Linked DNA regions of Homo sapiens: all the other regions are linked to region 1. Evidence: promoter capture Hi-C in 16 types of primary human blood cells and fetal thymus (Javierre and others, 2016). All regions are on one chromosome and are shown on one strand. The core of a region is centred on a gene start or on the middle of the fragment in contact, and the rest is flanking DNA. Distances in the headings are between cores, read along the strand shown. Region 1 holds the start of DNAJC21 (DnaJ heat shock protein family (Hsp40) member C21). Region 2 holds the start of MED10 (mediator complex subunit 10). Region 3 overlaps ICE1 (interactor of little elongation complex ELL subunit 1).

What was found. The method cuts DNA at HindIII sites, captures the fragments that hold promoters and counts their contacts. A CHiCAGO score of 5 or more calls a contact.
Region 2: a contact is called between the fragment with the promoter of MED10 here and the fragment with the promoter of DNAJC21 in region 1, in 1 of 17 cell types (non-activated CD4 T cells). The highest score is 5.1, in non-activated CD4 T cells.
Region 3: a contact is called between a fragment that was not itself captured here and the fragment with the promoter of DNAJC21 in region 1, in 1 of 17 cell types (neutrophils). The highest score is 12.9, in neutrophils.

What each region holds. Positions count from the first base shown.
Region 1 is chr5:34,928,124-34,930,823 of GRCh38, forward strand. DNAJC21 (DnaJ heat shock protein family (Hsp40) member C21) reads left to right here and starts at 1,436. Exons shown (of 12, transcript NM_001012339.3): 1 at 1,436-1,793. The coding sequence starts at 1,697. LOC124900961 (a long non-coding RNA gene) reads right to left here and starts at 1,558. Exons shown (of 2, transcript XR_007058731.1): 1 at 1,526-1,558; 2 at 1-1,010. RefSeq lists silencers at 1,112-1,581, 1,592-1,661, 1,692-1,891 and enhancers at 1,920-2,565, 2,032-2,201. The HindIII fragment of the contact is 5,598 bases long and covers 351-2,700 here.
Region 2 is chr5:6,377,114-6,379,813 of GRCh38, forward strand. MED10 (mediator complex subunit 10) reads right to left here and starts at 1,434. Exons shown (of 4, transcript NM_032286.3): 1 at 1,249-1,434; 2 at 53-136. The coding sequence starts at 1,370. RefSeq lists enhancers at 1,169-1,378, 1,669-1,888. The HindIII fragment of the contact is 6,030 bases long and covers 1-2,700 here.
Region 3 is chr5:5,426,422-5,429,121 of GRCh38, forward strand. All of the region lies in intron 1 of ICE1 (interactor of little elongation complex ELL subunit 1), which reads left to right. Among named protein-coding and RNA genes, the nearest start is that of ICE1, 5.1 kb to the left of the region's middle. The HindIII fragment of the contact is 2,607 bases long and covers 43-2,649 here.

The DNA.
Region 1 (2,700 bases), core at 186-2,685:
CTTCTTACTTCAGAAGGTAAAAGAAGTAAGTGATTCCTACAGGCTGTATCCAAAACCAAATCAAGTTGGAGGGAGAAAATACTCCAAATTAAGTTGGAGGGAAAAAAATACTTTCCCTTTCCGTTTTTTTTTTTTTTTTTGTCCCTCCCTTCCCCCCGCCCACCATCCCAATTCTGTTCTCAGGAGGGGAAAGGTTTCATTCTCCCCCAAACTCAGACTTCTCAATCCTTATCCATTACCAATTTACCAACTAACTGAGACTGTGTAGAATCTTCCTCTGGAAAAAAGGGAAGTGTATGAATTCTGAGTAGTGAGTTGGTTGGTCAGTGGCGTGTGAAGTAACCTGATGAAGCTTAGCGTGGGTTTTTTATTTTACTGGGGGCAGCATATTGGGGAAGAGAAGGATAACCTTACTAAACCGCTTGGGTACGCCAACCCTGTGCAATAGATATTAGCAACATAGCTAACCATACATGGTTAGTAAATACAACCCACACCTAACTGATGCATGTAAACATTCCACATTACAGTGAAATATATTGGTGTATTAATGCATTTTAATAATTATGGTATTATTTTGATACCTTTCAAAGTGTTTGGAATAATTGTGCAGATAGTCAGATCAACCAAAACCTACCAGTTAAATACTATCCTTTAACTGCTTTCTTAACCTAAACCAATCTTGGAAAGGTAGGATTAGAGGCCAGAAAGTTAGGATTAAAGTGTGTTGGATGGATAGATCAGCACAATTTCATCCATGTTGGTGGTAAGGCTTTTCATTAAGTGTGTTGATGCTTCCCTTTTAAATTGTTTCCGCTTAAATAATCTAACTGTCCTTTCTCAAGCATATTGGTCAAGATGATCAATACCAGATATCTTAAGTGGCAGCTGAAGAGAATTAAAGAGATTAAAAAAAAAACCTGATATTCAGTCCAACCGAATTCTGCTACTGTATTAGCTGAGGAGGCTTGAGCCAACCACTTGACCACTTGGAGTCTGAATCGCCTTATCTATAAAAACGGGGATCCATTGAGAAATTATAATCAGATATTTTCCAGAATCCTCTCCCATCCCAGCTCCTATCTCCCCCTTCAGCCCTCAGGTCGGCTGCCACTCACACTGACCGCCATCTGTGCCCCTCACAATGACACCAGCGTGGCCCTGCCTCCCTTCCGCGCGGCCCCGCCTCTCGCCCCGCCGAGGCCCCGCCTCTCACACCAAGGTCCCGCCTTCCTCCTGTTCTTCCCGGCCAAGGCCTACCTTCCTCCCACGCGGCCCGCCTCTTTCCCCGCCAAGCTCCCGCCTTTCTCCTGCGCGGCCCGCCTCTCTCCTCGCCAAGGCCCCGCCTTCCTTCCTCGGGGCCTCGCCTCTCACCCCGCCGAGGCCCCACCCCCTCCCGCGCGGCCCTTTCCGGCACAGAGCCCACCCCTAGCCCATGCGAAGCGGCGGCCGCCGGCACCGCCCCCGCCGCGCTCCCGCTTGCCGCAGCCTGCGTCGTCTGCCGCCACCGCGCGCCTTCACTGACCTACACCACCGCCGCCGCCGCCGCCGCCGCCGGGCTCGCTGGCTGGCCCGGTGCGGGCGGCGGACTCCCGCCGGAGAGGACTGCCAGCGCCGCCGCCGCCGCCGCTTCGGCCCGGGCCCGGGCCCCGACCCCGTCCCGGGCCCCAGCGCCGGCCGCCCGCCCGGTCGGGCGATGAAGTGTCACTATGAGGCGCTGGGGGTGCGGCGCGACGCCAGCGAGGAGGAGCTCAAGAAGGCCTATCGGAAGCTGGCCCTGAAATGGCACCCGGGTAAGTACCTGTCCCGCAGCCCCCGCGGCCACTCGGAGAAGCCCGGCCCTCCCCGACCTTCCCTTCCCCCGGGCGGACTCCGCGGAGCCAGCAGAGAGGGACCTGGCGGCCTAGGAGCTCCTTGCCCCGCCCGGCCAGTGCCCGGAGCCGCCCTGCCCGTCTCGGTGGGCGAAGCGCTCTGCCCTGGCGCACCCCGGCTCACACCCCATCTCCTCATACCCGCGACCCCGGCCCCGCATCGCCACTGTAGGGGGAAAACTGCAGTCCAACAACCTCACTTGCTCCCGCTACCGGGTCGCAGACACCACGAGGGAGCAGTCGGGAACTCGGAACTCAGACCTGCCCCAGGCTTGCTTTTCCCTGCGTCCCTTGCAGCGCAGCCTCTCGGTGTTTTTCCTCCGCTGCCCTCCACCTCGTCCGGGAATCCCAGATACTTCAACCTGATGTATGGCTCTTTTCGTTTCTTAGTTAAGAAGTTAAGACACGGGAGCTAGTAAAATATCTTTTCAATAGGGATGCGCTTTTTTCGCTGTTTTTTTTTTCTTTTAATAAGCTGTTTAAGCAGACCTTGTACTTCACTTTGGACATGATTCTGCCGGGGAAGGTTTTAATCAGGCGGCTTCCCCAGTAAAGTTTGTATGTTTACTTAGAAGTATCCTTCCTTTGGATGTTTCATTGGTCTGTAATCCAGGCCTGTGTGACTTTTATGAAGTAATCTGATCTTCCAGGCTGGGAAACTAAGAGAGTAGTTGACTTTCAGCTTTTTGAGGTTCATATGAAGAGGCTTTCATATTAGCATTCATCAGTAAACACGGTTACAGAGTATCCAATATATGCAAGTCACTGCACTCTACTAAGTAGATTTGGAAATGCTGAGACAGGGGTCTTAGAGTCTTGTTAGGAAAAC
Region 2 (2,700 bases), core at 184-2,683, about 29 Mb before region 1:
CCATAACTGAACAAGATTTATACCCAAGACTAATATCAAGAATGTTACTTACTCAAAAACTTCTAACGGTACAGTAATATCATGAAGCTGCTGTCTGCACTTGTCAATATCCTGTAAGCCAGTAACAATAAAATTCCTGGGGGAAAGGCAAACACACAGGCATCTGGTTAATTTCGCTTGACAGCATAAGCACCACCCACAGAGCTACCCAGCCAACCGGGGCTCCACGCAAGTTCGTTCTCCTCACAGCTATGCGGGTTACACACGGTTCTGACCTCTTTGGTTAGCTACAGGATTCCTAGGACACCGTTAGAGTTACAAAATACCCTTAAATATTTGTTACTTTCCTTCTCAACTAGAAATTGCCAGTAAGGGGGATGGAGAGGGAACCTGATGAAAAATATGAACCTTCTCTCAAAAACAATTACCTGACTGTGCATATGACTGTGTGTGCGGTTTCAGCGAACACATGAGGCAGCGGACTATACTCAAAGTCTGAGGGAAAGAAAGCCATACTGTCTGGTTTAGCTTCCTCTCCTCTCTGGAGCCTTCCTACAGCATCAGGCTGGTCTGGCTATTCCCACAGCACTAGGTATGGAACCTCGAGTGCAACATTTTCTATGTCCGTGCCACATATAAAGCCCTTCTCGAAAGTGCTGTACTTGCATTTGCCTTTTCTCCAACCCAGGGCCTAGCAACATGGGCAGCACAAGGCTGTTGCCAAGAAATAATAATAATAAACGTTCTGCAACCTTTCTCAGCACCACCTCCCCGCTATTTCCTCCACTGTCAGGCCTATGCGGCAGGTGGCTTCGGAGCCTCACCTTCTGAGGCCTAGTTTAGGGCGTGCACTCACTGTGGAGCCTGCCTCCCCTCTGGAGACAGGGACTGAATTCCCAGAAGGGCTCCAGGAGGAAAAGGCTGGGAGGGGGTTACACATGAGAGGGGAGACGCTAGAAGAGAAAGCATGATTCCCTTGATAGGGAAACGTAAAGTATATCATCTGGCCATGACGACGTCTCCAAAGGGGCCTCAAAGAGGTTGGCTCTTGGCAACAGGCTGGAGCGCGGGCCCCGCCCTCTGAACACAGCCAGGAAAGGCGCCCCGGGCTCCGGGACCAGACCAGAGGGCTGGCGGGGCACGAGTAGCGGTCAGGCTCGGCTCGGGCTCCCTAGATCCCCGCTCCCCTAGCACACGCTTCCCGGCCAGGCCCTGGGGAGACCCCGGCAGCCTCGGGCCGCCACTCACAGCTTTTGGTTGAGCCCGGCCTGGCTGCTGGGCTGGAAGTCACTGACGATGATGCCGAGCTGCCGAATGTTCTCCACGAACTTCTCCAGGTGCTCCTCTAGGTGGTCAAACTTCTCCGCCATCGCCTCGGCCCGTCCCCGACCCACACAGCCTCAACCAGCAGCGCCGCAGGCGTGGCCCTACGCTCCCGCTTCCTGCTTCCGTCCGGACAGATACGACTTCCGTTTCCTCTGGGGGAGCGCGGGCGAGCTCTTGGGGGCGGAGCCTCGTTATCGGGACGGGCGTGTTGGGGCGGGGCCTAAGTGCGGGGCAGGGCGGGCTTTCGGGGATGCGGTCTGGATTCTGGAGGAGGCCTCGGCGCGCAGCTGGGCGAGTACTAACTGTTTGCACTCTCATCAGACCTGCCTCGGTCATGGGAGAAGTTGAAGACTTTCTGCAATGCAGCATCTTCAAGCAATACACACATGGATGAAAATCCTAAAGTTTGCATGAAGGACCAATAACGGTAGTTTCCCTGCCCCTCTACCAGAACCCCTGGGATCAGCGCCTGCCTGCCTCCTTTCTTCTATGTAATCGGCGGCCACCTCCCCTAGCTCTTGCTGCTAACCATGCTTCCCGGACACCTGCTGCCTTCGTAGGTCAGGGTCTCACCTCCTCGGGCCAATTCTGACCAAACAGCACCCTGTGGGGTTGCCCTGTCTTAGTAAACTGCTGTTTATCTCATTGAAATTCAGTTTAGGTCATTTCACTCTTATGTTTAAGAAACTTTTCTGCCCGATCTCCTATGATAGCGGATATCTCCTCTAGCCTGTTTGAATTTCTCAAGTGATTTATTTTACTGAATATATTTGTGGCCTGTACTTTTCAGTGCCTAGAAACAGGCAAAGTGAGGGAGCTCCTTTGCTAGATGATCTTCAGAGCCTCTCCCAGCTGTGACCAGAAATGGAAAGCCAGAGAAGGTAAGTGACTTGCCAAACTTATGGAATCAGGGCACTCCAGTTGGTGGGCTGGGCTGATAAACAGAAATGTTACATAAAATACTTCTCTCCTGATTTAACAACAATTAACTTTAGGGAATTATAAAACAAGATGGAGGCTGGGCGTGGTGGCTCAGGCCTGTAATCCCAGAACTTTGGAAGGCCAAGGCAGGTGGATTACCTGAGGTGAGGAGTTCGAGACCGACCTGACCAATATGGAGAAACCCTGTCTCTACTAAAAATACAAAAATTAGTCAGACATGGTGGTGTGCGCCTGTAGTCCCAGCTACTTGGGAGGCTGAGACAGGAGAATTGCTTGAACCCAGGAGGCAGAGGTTGCAGTAAGCCGAGATCATGCCACTGCACTCCAGCCTGGGCAACAGAGCAAGACTCAAAAAAAAAAAAAAAAGGTGGAAATAAAATATTAGACAAATAAAAAATTTTAAGTTATTAGGTAGAGGTAGCGACATGGAGT
Region 3 (2,700 bases), core at 96-2,595, about 30 Mb before region 1:
TGGGTGACAGAGCAAGACTCCGTCTCAAAAAAAAAAAAAAAAAGCTTATTTGACAGAAGGGAGGTGTGAGGATAGGAAAATGGGGCATTATGTTCTGTCACTTAAAGGAATCTTTGAAACCATGAGGCCAATTCATGGGATTACATGCTATCATTAGAGTCAGTGACGGAAAACCAACTAGCTGATGTGTGGCCTTTGATGAAGGGGAACATGGAATGGTGAGGAAAGGAGAAACAGATAAAGTATGTTAGAGGGTTAAACAGGGAGTGCGTTCCAGAGGGAATCAAGAGTTCCAGAGGGAACCAAGATCGGAAAGAATGAGAATTAAGGAAAAGCAATTCTTTTGGTCAATTAGTAGATAACCGCTTTTTGGAAATAATTTTCGCATGTATTATAACTACGTGAAGTTCCATATTTCAATTAAACTTTCGTGTGAGAGAGAAACTAAAGAGGTACAGAGAGAAGATATTCTGTGCTATAGTTTTAACTTTTTGATCATGCAGAGAATTTACAAGTGTAACATAGGAGTCAGTCTTTCCAATGGTAGGCAACCATATTGGTGTTGTGACTTCATTCTGAACTGTAATGTTAGGCTAACTTGCCTCTCTGTCTTGAATAGTGGTTTGCTTGCACTGAAAATCTTCCTTTCATTTCTTAATCCTCCCTGTCCTTTTTTTCTTTAGTTGTTGAAGAGATAACAGTACCTTTGCAGAGATCATTATTTGATTCAGAAGTGTGCAGATTGACTACATTTTCTGTGTCTTTTGCTCGTAGTCTCACAAATCACTTCATATCTGTTTTGTTACGCTCATTGATTACAGTAGTTCATTGCTGATCCATAGCCCAATGCCCAAAGTTCTGGGTTGCAGAACTTTGGCAGTCAGATATAACAGTGTGGGTCCTCACTCTAGTCATATTATGTATTATGTATGGTTAAGTAAAGTCTTAAGTTGTGTGTGTTTAAGTCAAGCTAGTGAAGCTGACATAGTCTCTTTATTCTGATGAAGGAGAGGCCCATATTTGCTGACTTCACTGCAGTGCAAAACAGTTGGATTCTCCTGGGGATCCAGATGAGAGTTTGAAACACATGATTATATTGTTCATCTCATGTATCTAGATTAGATTCAGTGAGTTTGATGTATGGTTGTCCTTGGAACAGATTTGAGCCTGTCCATAAACTTGTGCTGGACTCCCATTGATAATCGCTAGTGATTTAAGTGTCATCGTTTGGAACTTGAAACATTTTATTCCAGACCTATTGATTTAGAAATGGTTCTTTTACAAGGAATGCTTACAAAATTGTAATTCATTCATTTGCCAAACACATTTATTGAGCTTCGATGTATATATGATGCTATCCTGTGTTTCAGAATACAATGATGAACAGAAGAGGCATGGAGCTCATTCTTGTTGAGGTTACAGTTAAGTAGAAAAGCAACCACAGTATAGGTATAATATAAATATTATGGTAAGGGACATATGAGGTACTCTGGGAGCATGTAGGAGGGACAGTTATATAGGAATTGTGCCACCTCTCTGAAGGCTTCATAAAAGTGAATCTAAATTGAGGTCTGAAAGATGATTTGCAGTTAACTAAGAGGGAAAAGATGGAGGGAGAGTGTTGTAGACAGAACAAGTTGTGCCAAGGCCTGGAGGGGAGAAAGTAGTTGACGATAGATGAAGCACAGAGTAAAGGTGGGGATAACTGAGGTGGGGCTGGAGAGACTGGGGTTTGCCTTCCCAGCACCCAGAAGCCACTCTGCTTGGTTTTGGTGGGTGGGTGTGGTTGGGGCACAGTTAGAGAGAGGTGGACATTCCTGCCTTGTTGCCCTGTTCCAGTCCACGCTGTGCCAGAGGTTTTAACAGGTGAGAAGACACACTCATCTCTGCTAGATATCAGTGTAGGCTTTGATTTTAAATAAGAGCAGTTAGTAAACAGCAAGCACACCAGGAATAAGTGGTTTATCAGAGAGGAGTCATGCTGAACAATTAGCCAGATCTCTCCCAGCAAAGCAATAAATGTGAGTAGTGTGATTTTTAAAAATAATTTATTTTGAAATAATTTCAGACTTACAATAAAGTTGCCACAATAATACAAATAACCCTGATGTTCTCAAATTCACAAATTGTTAACATGTTATTGCATTTGCTTCATCATTGTCTGCACACATACACTTTGTCTCCTGTACATGTTCCAGGGTATACTTCCTCCAGATATGAACGTTTTCCAACATAATTACCCTACACCCCTCCAAATCAGGATAGTAACATTGGTGCAGCTGTAGACCTATTCAGATTTTGCTTGCTGGCCTGGGAGTGGCTTTTTGCTTTCTTACTCAAAGTCATGTCAGGAATATGTGTTATATTTTATTGTAATGTCTCTTCAGCCTCCTTCATTTAGTCTTTGTCTTTCATGTTTGTGAAAGTTTAAACAGCAGAGCCTTGCATTCCTCAGCGAACGTTTTACTACTTCTGAAGACATTTTTGATTGTCAGTGTTGGAGTCCCTAAGACCATGCTCATGTTCAGTACTCATAGGACTTAGCATATAGTTATACTCATGGCTGTGGTTTCTTACAGGGAAAGCATACAGAGTGAAGTCAGTAAAGGGAAAAGGCATATGGGGCAAAGTCTGGGGAAATCAGGCACAAGCTTCTGAGAGTGTTTCCCAGTAGAGTCACACAGCACATGCCTAATTGCT